4 separate regions of the Homo sapiens genome follow, and all the other regions are linked to region 4. The links are contacts of gene promoters, found by promoter capture Hi-C in blood cells and fetal thymus (Javierre and others, 2016). All regions are on one chromosome and are shown on one strand. The core of a region is centred on a gene start or on the middle of the fragment in contact, and the rest is flanking DNA. Distances in the headings are between cores, read along the strand shown. Region 1 overlaps KANSL3 (KAT8 regulatory NSL complex subunit 3). Region 2 overlaps KANSL3 (KAT8 regulatory NSL complex subunit 3). Region 3 has its middle 27 kb from the start of ARID5A. Region 4 holds the start of ASTL (astacin like metalloendopeptidase).

Region 1 (3,104 bases), core at 71-2,570, 470 kb after region 4:
CAAAGATGGAGGAACTCTATCAAATTAAAGGAGACTGAGGAGACATGGCAACTAAATCCAAGTGTGATCCTGGGCTGGATGCTGGACCAGAAAAATGACATTAGGGAAACAACTGATGAAACATGAGTCTGTAAATTACAGTATCATGTAGATGTTAATTTCTTGATTTTGAGAATTACACTTTGGCTATGTAAGATGTTTAACATTTAGAAAATCAGGTGAAGGGTATATAGGAATTGTTTTGTACTAGTGTTATAACTTTTTATAAATCTGAAATTTCAAATATTAAAAAAGGTTTTTTTAATGCTGTCTTTTTTTAATTTTTTTTTTTTTTTGAGACAGAGTCTTGCTCTGTCACCCAGGCTGGAGTGCAGTGGCGGGATCTCGGCTCACTGCAAGCTCCGCCTTCTGGGTTCACACCATTCTCCTGCCTCAGCCTCCCGAGTAGCTGGGACTACAGGCGCCCGACACCAGGCCTGGCTAATTTTTTGTATTTTTAGTAGAGACGGGGTTTCACCGTGTTAGCCAGGATGGTCTCAATCTCCTGACCTCGTGATCCGCCTGCCTCAGCCTCCCAAAGTCCTGGGATTACAGGCGTGAGCCACCGCGCCCGGCTAATGCTGTCTTTTAACTGAACCAGACTGGTCTGTAGTTACATTGCCAGCTTCCAGGCTTATCTCTAACACTGTAACACAGCTCTCTTGCAGCTCTGGGAGAATCCACCCACCTGAGATTGTCATCAGCTCCCCCAACCACCACCAAGCTGTTCTCAGCTCGAATCTTCTCCCGGAAGTCCTCCATGGCTTCAGGGTGACATTGAAGGGAATTCTGACCAATGACAAAGAGGACTGGAGTCTTCATATCCAAGAGGGGATCATCTACATCCTAAAACAGGTATAGGTTTTAGAATCGGCTTCTTCATATTCACAAAGCACTGACCCAGAAACTCCACTAAGGAGGATCAGCCATGCAACTGCAGTCAGCCTCAGCATCAGCTTGGACAAGGCATGCACACTCGCGCTCCCACTGCCAATGACCCAGCACTCAGCTTTACCACATTCTTACCCCTCTGGGGCCATCCACAGTAAGCAGAGGAAACCCAAGGCAGACAACTGCAGTGACATACTCCATTACTGACACCTGTAAATAACAGAACAGTTTGTCTAAACGTCAACTGAGTTCATGGCACCTCAGCCTACCCAGAATCCAGGAGTGGTCCAGACCCACCAGACAGTCTCACCTCTTCCTCTCCTGTCCTAATATCCGGGTGCATCTTCTGCCACAATGGCAGCAGTAAGAGCACAAGACACAAGGTATGTCATTCCATAAGCAGCCACTACCTAGAGAACTGGGGCCCTAAGAGGACCCCAGCAGGTGGCTGAACCATAGGATAGAAGGTTCAGTATTCCTACCCTGTCAACCCCCTCAACTAGAGCCCTCCTGCTCCATTTTTCTCCACAAATAGTAAATATAGTCAAGAGAACACAATGTTGCCATTAACCCTTAAGTGAAAAAAAATTCTCTCTATTGAACTTAATGGATAGCTACCAGACAGCCTAGATTTCTTGGAGCAAACTGCTAAGGCCTAACACCCTGGGAGCAGGGACTATGGGGACCTTCTTCCTCTCATAGCTATCACACTTGATTGGACTGCATGAAGCAAAATTAAGGGTTTGGACATGAGGGACACTTACACAAACTGACAGACATACAAATATATGTAAAATACGAAAAGATTCCTTGATGTCTTGGAAAAAGACTGAAATGAACACAGCATCAAATTCCAGAGCTATTAATATTTGCCAGCTACAATTACTGTTGTTTTTTAGGTGGGAGAACAGTATGGTACTTATGTTTAGAGAAAAAAAGGGATCTTTTTTTTTTTTCCACAGATATATACCCATATGTGTGTGTGTGTGTGTGTGTGTGTGTGTGTGTGTATGTGAAAATGCTATTATATTTGGGATTTTCTTCAAAACAATCTAGGGGAGAAAGAAAATGAGCAGGGTGAGATGAAACAAGCCCAGCCAAGAGTTGATCACTGGTAAAGCTGGGTGAGGATCCGGGGGTTTATTATACTACACCTGCTTTTGTTTCTGCTTAAAGTTTTCCAAAATAAATTAAAAATTGTTTTAATAAAATTTGTCTTCTACAGTTTAAAATGTAATTATATAGGTAAAGTATCTAGCGCAGAGCCTGACACACAGTAAAGGACTCAATGGTAGCTATGATTAGTGGTATTCCATCCCAGGACAACCTCCAAATAAGATAGAAATTACTTACATGACAGGCCACCAAAGCTCCTGTGTTCCAGCCAATCAAGATAATGGGTTTGTGTGGGAAATGGCTGTGAATCTTCATGGGAAGAGAAAGAAGACAGTAAGACAGGAGGCCAAAGATAGGTGCAGAACAACCCCAGAATGCTGGGTATGCCACAATGTACTGAAATACGGGCATTCTCACCTCCAGCACTTTGCTTCTCACTGCCCCAATCATATGCTCGAGACACTGTAGAACTCCTACCCCACTGCCATTGTTCAGCAGATGGGTGGCTACAGGGATGACCTGAAGGAAAGAAGTAGCCCCCACACCAGCAGAGGTAAGTTTCAAATCTTTCAATTCTGTTTAACCTAACCTAAACCCAAAACCTTGGAATTCCACATGAAAGAAGGATTAGAGGAGGCTCCACATGAAAGAAGGGTTAGAGGAGGCTCCACATTCAAGTTACCCATTTTGACCTCCTCCCACATATTCTTCTCCTCAATCCTCCAAGACTATATTCCCTGCCAGGAAGGAGTTCCTCTTGCCCCCACACATACCTTGCCCAAGCAGGACAGCTGAGATTGCCAGAAGCGGTGGCGGCGTGAAGTGGGAAACACAGAGCTGGAGGGACCAGAGGAGGCGATGAGAATCAGCGGAGAGCCAGGGAGTTTGCTCTAAAGAGGAAGAATCCCACCCAAAAACCAGTGAGTGAGAAGTGTCCTTTCATGAAATTCCAAGTATCCCAATACCTTTCTCATCCCAACCAATGCTCCTTTGCTTGTGAAATTATGTTAAGCACTATGTAAAATAAATTATTAATAATAGTTAAAGAAGCTGGCCAG
Region 2 (3,285 bases), core at 307-2,806, 490 kb after region 4:
AAGAAACAAACTGGTATTTATAGTATTATTAAGTCTCTAATGACTTTGATAAGTATGAATTGTCCACAAAAACCTCTTAATCATAACCATGGATAAACTGACAAAAAAAAAAAAAATCACACAGTTCTCCTATGTACTTTCTGAAATTGCAAAGGACAAGGTAGTAGAAAATACCACAAAGGGATACATAACCATACCAGGCCACCTTGTTCAGCCACCACTAACTGGTCTTAATCTCTTCTTACTGCCCTTAATTAAGGCAGAGGGTATGGTAGTTGAGAACACTGGGTTCTGGAGTCAGGCTGCTTGGTTTGAACAAAATCCTTCTCCATCACTTCCTAATTAAGGTTTCTTAAACACCCTGAGCTCAGTTTCTTCATCCTGTTGAGCAGAGATGAAGGGGGGATATACCTCCAAGAGTCATTGGGAGGATTAAGAGACAATGCATTTGAAGAGACATTGATACAATGTCTGGCACCTAGAAAGCACTCAACAAACGGTAGCTCCTTTTTGTTATTACCATCGTCGTTATTTTTTATTATTAACTGTAAAAATAGTGATAAATCCTTTTGCTGAATATACTGACTCTAGCAATATTCCAGTAGTTGATCTTCATTCGTAGCAGTTTTCTTCTTTATCTGAAGCTCAAAAGAGCTTTTTTTTCTTTTTTTGAGATGGTGTTTCACTCTTGGTGCCCAGACTGGAGTGCAATGGCACGATCTCGGCTCACCACAACCTCCGCCTCCCAGGTTCAAGTGATTCTCCTGCCTCAGCCTCCCGAGTAGCTGGGATTACAGGCATGCGCCACCACACCCAGCTAATTTTGTATTTTTAGCAGAGACAGAGTTTCTCCATGTTGGTCAGGCTGGTCTTGAACTCCCGACCTCAGGTGATCCACCCGCCTCAACCTCCCAAAGTACTGGGATTACAGGCGTGAGAAAAGAGCTTCTTAAGGCACTAAATTAATTCCAATGCAAGACCCCAACCAACTTCTTCACAAGCTTTTTCAACCAAGGTGCAGAACTGCTCCTCCCTCAACAGCTGCTGTTTTGATCACACAAGCACACCTGTTCAATCTCATTCCCAACTTCCAACCAGCTTCAGAAGTCATGTCAATCACCTCAAACTTTCTACCCCTCTTTCTCTCTATTATAAAATAAGGGTTCTCCAAAATTATGGAAAGTTACCACCTACCAACTCCTGATATAAGAAGTAACATTTCCTTATATATATAGTAGATATATGGATACACAGACAAAAAGCCATCAACAAAATATAAGTTGAAACCACAATGAGATGCCACTTTACACGCAGTAGAATGGTTATAATTTTTTTAAAAAAGAAGAAAATCAGTAAGTGTTGGCAAGGATATGGAGAAACTAGAACTCTCATACACTGCTGGTAGGAATGTAAAATGGTACAGCCACTTTGGAAAACAGTCTGGCAATTCCTCAAAGGTTAAATACAGAGTTATCATATGACCCAACAAGTCCACTCCCAGGTATATAACTAAGAGAATTAAAAACTTAGATCCACACAAAAACTTGTATGCAAATGTTCATAATAGCATTATTCACAATTGCCAAAAAATGAAAACAATCTAAATATCTATCAACTGATTAATGAATAAATAAAATGTGGGCTATCCATACAATGTAATGTCATTTGGCAATAAAAAGCATGAAGTGCTGATACACGCAACCACATGGATAAACCTTGAAAACATCATGCTGGGTGAAAGAAGCCAGTAGGAAAAGACCACATATTGCATGATTCCATTTATATGAAATGTCCAGAATAGGCAAATCTATAAAGACAAAAGTCAATTAGTGCTTCCTAGGGACCAGAGAAGCTGGGAGGAAACGGGAAGTAACTGTTTATGGGTAAGAGGTTTCTTTTTAGGATGATGAAAATGTTTATCAAATTGATAGTGGTGATGAATATACAACTCTGACTATACTAAAAACCAATGACTGTACATATTAAATAGCTGAATTGTATGGTATGTAAATAATATCCCCAAAAAGCTGTTATGTAATTAGGTAAATGTTTACCAAATGAACAGGGACAAATAACCAGGAGAGGAGTGCTGAGTCCCCTGGGGGCAGTAGAAAGCTTGGGAACAAAACTAGCCAGTATACTCGTGAAAATAGGCTTCAGTGTGCCCTCCATAGCCTGCAAATCTATTTTTAAAAGCCACTCAAACATCTGTTAGCTTTTCATGTGACTTCACAACTTCCATCATCCTAGTTATAAACCATTTAAACACAATATCTTACAAATGTACATTTCATTTTTTTGCAGTTTGGGTAACCCCTATATCATAACTTATACAACAGAAGCTACTACAGAGCTAGTCATATGTATCAAATTTAATTCACTTATTTATTCAACAAACATTATATGCCTACTGTGTGCCAGACAACGTCCTAGTGTGAAGTATGCAAAGATGGCTGAGATGTAAGCCCTACTCTCAAGGAGCTCACACACAGCATGGTGAACTGAGAGTTATAATGTGAGACTTTGGAGAACACTCTGACTTGTGTTGCTGCAAATGAAATAAGGTCCTAATAAGTGTTATTTCAATGAAGATGATACAAAATAATTACAGGGCAGTGATCATCCTCCTGATGAGCAGCCTACCTGTTGACATGCTCCTCCCAGTCCTCTGGTGGAGGAGGGGCATCTGCATCAGTCCTGGCAAAGATGACATGCCGTTCACACTCATTCATCACGCTGCGTGCCTTCTGATTGTCATAGAGTGGCATAGGCGTTGATGTGACCGTCTCCACATCTATTGGGACGTCTGATTCACTGTAAACAGGTGAGGAAATAGGACCGGGCCACACATACTTCACAGGTATTTAACAATCATCTGGTTGACAAAAAATGTATCTTTAATACAGTCAGCTTTAAATTACGCATAAGCACATTATATTCACAAGAAAATTTTGATCCAAAGTCATCTTTCCCACACTTGTCTAGATCTCTGCCCTCTCAGACATGATGGTATGTACTGGAAGAACACAAAGTCATTTTTTCAATGAGTCTATATAAAAAATGATAAACATCTATTTTTTTTTTAAGATAAATATGGGCCAGGTGCACTGGCTCACACCTGTAATACCACCACTTTGGGAAGCCGAGGCAGGTGGATTGCTTGAACTCAGGAGTTCAAGACCAGCCTGGGCAACATGAGGAAACCCTGTCTCTACCAAAAATACAAAAATTAGCTGGGCATGTGGCACACACCTGTGATCCCAGCTACTAAGGAGGCTAAGGTGG
Region 3 (3,525 bases), core at 843-3,342, 430 kb after region 4:
CGGGTGCATCCTCATCAAGGAGCCTCCAACACTCACCCCACTGAATTTCAAAGCTGCCAGGGACCAGTGGCTCTTAGGTGCCTCCCGCGTTCCCCTTTTTGAATAGGAATGTCCACTGCAGTTATCCTATGCCGGTCCCACCACTGTGGTTGAACATGTCAGGGATAGATAAAAATTCCTTTTAGTTCACAAGTCTTTGGATATAGAACTACTATACTTGAGAAATTATGCCCAAGAAGCCTCATCCACATCTGGTGACATCTTCAGGTAAATGATGACATCCTGGATTTTAAGCCAATGCTGGAAAGGGTAAGGCTTCTGGGGAATCTTTAAACAGGGTGAGTATATTCTGTATATGGGACTGTAGGCAGAATAACAGCCTCCTAAAGATGTCCACATCCTAATCCCCAGGACCTATGACTATATTAGGGGGCATGGCAAAGGGGAATTCCGGTTGCAGATGAAATTATGGTTGCTGGATATGAATAGACTATCCTGGATTGTCAAGAAAATACTGGGTGGGCCCAATGTCACATGAGCGTCCTTAAGAGTGGAAGAACAAGGTGGGAGAAAGAGACTCAAAAGGCAGCAGAGGAAGGACTTGGCCCAGCATTGCTGGCTTTGAAGACAGAAGAAGGAGCCACAAGCCAAGGAATGTGGGTGCCTCTTAGAAGCTGTAAGTCAAGCAGACAGATTCTCCCCTAGACCCTCCAGCAGGAACACAGTCCTACTGACACCTGATTCTAGCGCTGTGAGACCCATACTGGACTTCGGACCTCCAGAACTGCAATATAATAAATTCGTGTTGTTTTAGGTCACTAGGCTTGTGGTAATTTATTAGAGCAGAAATAGAAGACTAATACAGTGAGGGGTGTAAATAATCTGTGGCCAGCAGGCAGACTGTGGTAGCGGAAAATATGCCCACAAAATCTTGTACTCCTTTCAGAAAGTGGAGCCTAATTCCCTTCCTCTTGAGTGTGGGCTGGAATTAGTGACTCATCTAACTAATGAACTGATAAAATAAGGCAGAAGTGATGGTGTGTGACTTCTGATACCAGATCACAAAAGGAGCAGCTTAATGGAAGTCTGGGACAGCTCCCCATGCCATCGTGGGCTCAGAAATGGACGTACTAACTTAGGGACACCCATGTCAAACAAAGACCACACCAACAGCTTATGAAAACCAATGAGTGATTTGGAAATGATCAGAGGGATCTGATGAATGGTTTGTTTTACAACTTACATCACTTGGCAAGCAGTTTTATAAGAAATAGTTGTCCCTCAGTATACATGGGGAATTGGTTCCAGGACTCTCCCCCCATACCAAAATCCGTGCATGGCCAAGTCCAGAAGTTTGCCCTGCAGATCCCTCCTATATAAAAATTCTGCCCTCTGACGAGGCGAGTTTTTGCATCTTGAGAATACTGCATCTTCCACCTGTATTTGTTTGCAGATAGGGAATCAGTAAATACCAAGAGCCGACTACATCTTTTGAAAAAAATCAAAATATAAGCGGACCCAAGCGCTTCAAACCCATGTTGTTCAAGGGTCAACTGTGTTTATATTATTTAGAGAATAAAAAATATATATTTTATATTTAGATTATTGTAGTTATTACATATTTGACCATCACTCCTATGTAAATATTTCTTCCTTTCCAAACCCCTTGTTTCATCCCCTTCCTTTCCTTTTAAGCACTGGTCTCTGTGCACAGAATGCCAGGGATAGACTAACACAAACTGTCGTGAGAAACAGAAAGAAAAGCTGGCTGCTTCTCAGCACTTGTCAGTGGGACAACACAGGGCCATCCTTTGCCCTTTTTGGGAAGAAGGGAGGTCCTGAGAGTAGCCTTCTATGCAAATTGAGAACTTTGAGAAGTGGGTTGGTGGAATGATGTCCCTGTCCCTCTGAAGCAGGGTCCAGTCTCAGTGCCACAGTGCCCACCATGGAAACATGGCCCCAGGCCCATGACACTAGGACATGTCTCCTGCCTGGTTCCCTGGAGGGCGAGGCTGGGCCGTGACCGCCAGCTGTAGCATTCAAGTCTGGAAGCCTGGACCAACAATAGGTTTTGTGCCTGGTTTTGTGTGAATTTGCATCAACCTTGTTGCAGACTCCTTGACGCCTTCCCCTTCAAACACAGATGCCTGAGCCTTGGCCAGCTGATCAAATGCTTCTTTTGATCACTGACATCTTTGTGGCTGCAGTAGCCAGCCCATGGCCATCTCCAGAGTGGTCCAGTACTACCCGACCCCTGCCAGGGAGGGGCACCATCTAACTGGACTAATGGCGCTCAGTCAGGGTCATCGCTGTGCTCCGGGGAGACCCTGCATATCCCAGAGGATCCTAAATGTTTTCTGGAGTTGGAGAGAATTCCGAGAATCCTCCTCATAAATCCTTCTTTGGATATAAGCTAGCCAGATGTCGTTTCTGCCATTTGCCACTCCAACACCATCAGCCAGATATCCAGGTGTCCCAGATGGTGAACATTCAAGAGCCCCAGCCATGGGTCCAGGCAGCAGAGGCACGTCTATGGAGATAGGCTGGGCCTTGTCCCCTGCCAAGTCAGTGATGAGTGGGAGGACTCACTGGCCCTTGCACTGAGCAAGGCCACCTGACAGGCCAGCCTAATCACCCCCCTGTGGCCAATATAAGGATATTGATCTTTAGTGGCCAGAATCTCTCCTCCATCACTTTTTATGTATTTTGTTGTTGGTGGTGGTGGTGGGGTGTGTGTGTGTGTGTGTGTGATTTTCTGCCGAGTCCTTCATCTTGGATCCTCCACCACTTTTGCCAAGGAACACCTTCCAGCTCACAGGTAAGGGAAGAACTCTTTCCAGACAATAAGTCAGGAACCTCTGACTTGTGATGAGGAGAGGAGGGCTTGCCACATAGTGTAGAATTTAAGTCACTCCAGAATTTTCAGGACGATGGCTTTGGATCCAGCTACACTCAAGAACTAGGACCAAGAAGCAGATCTGATTGGTATTCCCTAGGGAAAACCTAGCCGTCATTTGCATGCAAACAATGCCTGGCATGTACGAGGCAGCCCTTTCAGGCTTCTCTGCCCCGTTGTTGGGCCCTGTCAAACCTGTGCTTGTATAGAAAGCAATGGGATGCTAAATCAGATAGAGTGGGATTAGAATTTGCATGAGAGAAAGGGAAAGGGAGGGGCAGGAACGAGGGAGAGAGCTGAAATCTGTCCTCCCTAGGAGAGTGGCTTCCATTGACAGGCAGGGAGAATGAGGGAAGGTCATCAGAAACACCAGATGCAAGTCTGTCACTGATGGCTACCCAATATCCTTGAGGGCATCTGGACCGCCCCCATTTTGGTCCTTTCCTATATTTTGAGTACCATCTTCCCAAGGGACAAGCTATAAAAACCTGCATTCCCAAACTCCCTTGCTGCCATTGAGCAGGCATGTGACTGAGATACCAACCAATCAGACATGCACACAGACTGGCAAAGGAGACACTGGAGGAAGTAGCCAAATGGATTTAATGGCCCAGAGGTCATGTCCTGAT
Region 4 (3,107 bases), core at 232-2,731:
TTTTGGTGGGGACGGGGTTTCACTGTGTTAGCCAGGATGGTCTCGATCTCCTGACCTCATGATCTGCCCGCCTCAGCCTCCCAAAGTGCTGGGACTACAGGCGAGAGCCACCGCACCCAGCTGAGCTTCAGACTTCTTAATCACACCTGCAGACAGTCCTGCACAGGGTGGCTGACAATCTCAGACTGCGACTAACCGCTTAGCTCCACGCCCAGGCCCTTTAAGAGCTTGGTTTTTCTTATAAAAGTAACAATCCACTAAGAAAGATACAAAAAGAAAGAGTAGACTTAAGCAATTGCCCATAGAATTTCCACCCATTCACACCTGTAGTCCCAGCTGCTCGGGAGGCAGAGGCAGGAAGATCACTTAAGGCCAGGAGTTCAAGACCAGCCGGGGCAATATAGCAACACCACTCCATCTCTTAAAAACCACTTAGAGCCCAGAGTAAGCTGGTCCATTTCCTCCCAGGCTCTGCATTTCTGAGTGTTCGGTGTGGTTTTCACACTACATAACGTCGTGCCCCTCCAGGCCGTGAGAAGATGTAGTGCCCTCACCTTGGTTAATTGCAGGAATGTCCTTGTCCCCGGAGGCCTGGGTTCCCTCAGGGGTGAGGCCATCTGGGAAGCTGGTACCACAGGCTCCTGCGCAGCTGGAGGCCAGGGGCGCTCCTAGGATCACACCTGGTCCAGACAGACAGGGGCATACACAGATGCCTGGAGCACCCACCGGTGAGACCAGACAGCAGGACATGGGGTGGGTGTGGGGGATCAGACGGTAAGACTCAGTCCCTAGGAAGAGTAGGCTCCAGCACAAAGCCAAGGAGCCTTCCCAGCCTCCCTGCTCAACCCCAACTGGTGCCAAGGTCTAGATGACCTCAGGGAAGGAGCTCCCTTAGGGGGACCAAAAGGGACCATGTGCCCCACCTATGAGGTAGAGGAGGGGCAGGAAGGAAGGAGGCAGGACAGACCTCGGGTTCTGACGCCCGTGACGGGCAGGGCCAGCCTCAGACCCCACCTTATGACTCTCTCTCAGCCCAGGCTCTTGGACAATGGGCTCAGCCTGGATGACTCCCTGCCTGACCAGGCTGGAGTGGGGACTTACAGCCTACCCCCACCCCAAGACAAGTAGGCCTGGGGCACAACACTTATCTTCTGCCAGGCAGGCCCTCTGCTTCCAGGGCCTTCAGGAGGCCTCCCCTTGGCCCCCCAGGAGCTGACTTCTAGAATAACCCTGGAGAGCTCTGTGCTCTGAGCTACTGAGCTCAGCTACAATCCCTGCAGGCTCCAGCCACAACCTTCTAGCCTCTCCCCAGCTTTCTCCAGGCTGGAGCCAGCAGCAGGAGGGACAGGCAGCCAGCTTACCTGGCAAGGAGAGCAGACCCAGCACCCAAGGCCAGAGACCCCCTACACCCTCCATGGTAGAGCCCTGCTGCCCCTTCAGCAAACAAGACCAAGCCCCAGCAAGACACAGTAACCTAATTGCAGAACCGGCACCACCACCCCCTCTTAAATAGCAGCTGCTCCACCTCCCACCTTGCTCCCCTCAACCGCCTCCACCTGCAGCCCCGCCCCAACCACCTCCACCTGCAGCCCCGCCCCAACCATCTCCACCTGCAGCCCCGCCCCAACCACCTCCACCTGCAGCCCCGCCCCAACCAGCTCCACCTGCAGCCCCGCCCCAACCAGCTCTACCGGCAGCGCCACCCAAACCAGGTCTACTGGCAGCCCCTCCGATGCCTACCTGTGGTTCCCACCCCAGCCCAGTCCCCTTCCTGGCTGTAGCAGGTGAAAGACAGGAGGGGCCCGCTTGGGAGTGTGGCTCTTCTGAGGTTCCTTCCTGCCTCCAGGGGGCAGAGAAACATCGCAGAAAGTTGCTCCAGGCCTAGCTGAGGCCCCAGCCCAGGTATAGACCTATTCCTCCAGCGAGGGAGACCCCCTTTCCTACCCCGGCCTGTGCTTAGACATGGGGAAAGCTGCCTGAGACCCTGGGGCGCCCCCCGTGTATCTCCGGAAGGAGGAAAAGGTCACTGCACTTTCACAAGCTTTTATTTTAGTACACATATAGAAAAGTTCACTATCACAAGCACAGGGCTCCAGGAAATTTCACAAACTGAACAGTGTGCAGCACCCTAGAAAGCCTGCCATGTGGGAAAGGTGGAACCCCCAGATGCCCAGAGCCTCGCAGGGAGTCCACCCCCTAATCCCACAGCAGCTGGCATGATCAGTCAGTATTTATTCCCATTTCACAGATTTGGAAATTTAAACTCCTTACCTATATCCCCCCTCCTCCATACCCCTGAGCCCCAGAGCCAGGTCACTCAGGGCCCCACCTGGATTGAAATCCCAGAGGCGGAGCATGTCAGCGCTGGGCAGCATTTGGGGACACCCCCACAGTCACCTGCACCCAGTGAAGGGAAGCGACAGAGCCAAGAAGAATAGCTATTGTCCACAAGGACCTTTCAGCATTCCCACTGTGCCTGGAATCCAGAGCTTCTCCAAAGATAGGAATCAGAATCACAGGGAGACCATGATGGAGGCAGACGCCCTGCTGCCAGGGCAGGGTATTGACAGATGTCAGGATACACACCATGGATATGCTAGTTAGCTTGTTGTGGTCATCATTTCACAAGGTATGCATATGTCAAAACATCACGTTGTATACTTAAACATATACTACTTTTATTTGTCGATTATGCCTCAGTAAACCTAGAAAAAATAAGTAAAATAAAGAATAGGACCCATCAAAAAACAAATGCACAAGGCTGACCACTTAAGATGAGTGTTCAGGAGGGCGCGGTGGCTCACGCCTATAATCCCAGCACTTTGGGAGGCCAAGGCAGGTGGATCACGAGGTCAGGAATTCAAGACCAGACTGGCCACCATGGTGAAACCCCATCTCTACTAAAAGAATACAAAAATTAGCTGGGCACGGTGGCGGGCACCTGTAATCCCACCTACTCGGGAGGCTGAGGCAGGTGAATCACTTGAACCCAGAGGTGGAGTTTGCAATGAGCCAAAATCGCGCCACTGCACTCTAGCCCGGGGGACAGAGTGAGACTCCATCTCAAAAAAAAAGATGAATGTTCAGTAAAAAAAAATAAAGTAGAC

The links. The method cuts DNA at HindIII sites, captures the fragments that hold promoters and counts their contacts. A CHiCAGO score of 5 or more calls a contact.
Region 1: a contact is called between a fragment that was not itself captured here and the fragment with the promoter of ASTL in region 4, in 1 of 17 cell types (naive CD8 T cells). The highest score is 5.4, in naive CD8 T cells.
Region 2: a fragment that was not itself captured here is called in contact with the fragment with the promoter of ASTL in region 4 in 1 of 17 cell types (naive CD8 T cells); the score reaches 5.0 in naive CD8 T cells.
Region 3: a fragment that was not itself captured here is called in contact with the fragment with the promoter of ASTL in region 4 in 8 of 17 cell types (total CD8 T cells, naive B cells, naive CD8 T cells and 5 more); the score reaches 7.7 in total CD8 T cells.

The regions. Positions count from the first base shown.
Region 1 is chr2:96,609,999-96,613,102 of GRCh38, forward strand. KANSL3 (KAT8 regulatory NSL complex subunit 3) reads right to left here. Exons shown (of 21, transcript NM_001115016.3): 7 at 2,820-2,936; 8 at 2,464-2,565; 9 at 2,284-2,355; 10 at 1,066-1,140; 11 at 728-885. Among named protein-coding and RNA genes, the nearest start is that of KANSL3, 27 kb to the right of the region's middle. The HindIII fragment of the contact is 9,937 bases long and covers 1-3,104 here.
Region 2 is chr2:96,628,669-96,631,953 of GRCh38, forward strand. It overlaps KANSL3 (KAT8 regulatory NSL complex subunit 3), which reads right to left. Exons shown (of 21, transcript NM_001115016.3): 3 at 2,644-2,814. Among named protein-coding and RNA genes, the nearest start is that of KANSL3, 8.0 kb to the right of the region's middle. The HindIII fragment of the contact is 1,114 bases long and covers 1,000-2,113 here.
Region 3 is chr2:96,562,214-96,565,738 of GRCh38, forward strand. No RefSeq gene overlaps it. Among named protein-coding and RNA genes, the nearest start is that of ARID5A, 27 kb to the left of the region's middle. RefSeq lists enhancers at 2,095-2,595, 2,666-3,166. The HindIII fragment of the contact is 4,621 bases long and covers 1-3,525 here.
Region 4 is chr2:96,137,021-96,140,127 of GRCh38, forward strand. ASTL (astacin like metalloendopeptidase) reads right to left here and starts at 1,482. Exons shown (of 9, transcript NM_001002036.4): 1 at 1,362-1,482; 2 at 555-680. The coding sequence starts at 1,416. RefSeq lists an enhancer at 1,337-1,406 and a silencer at 2,297-2,386. The HindIII fragment of the contact is 4,955 bases long and covers 1-2,039 here.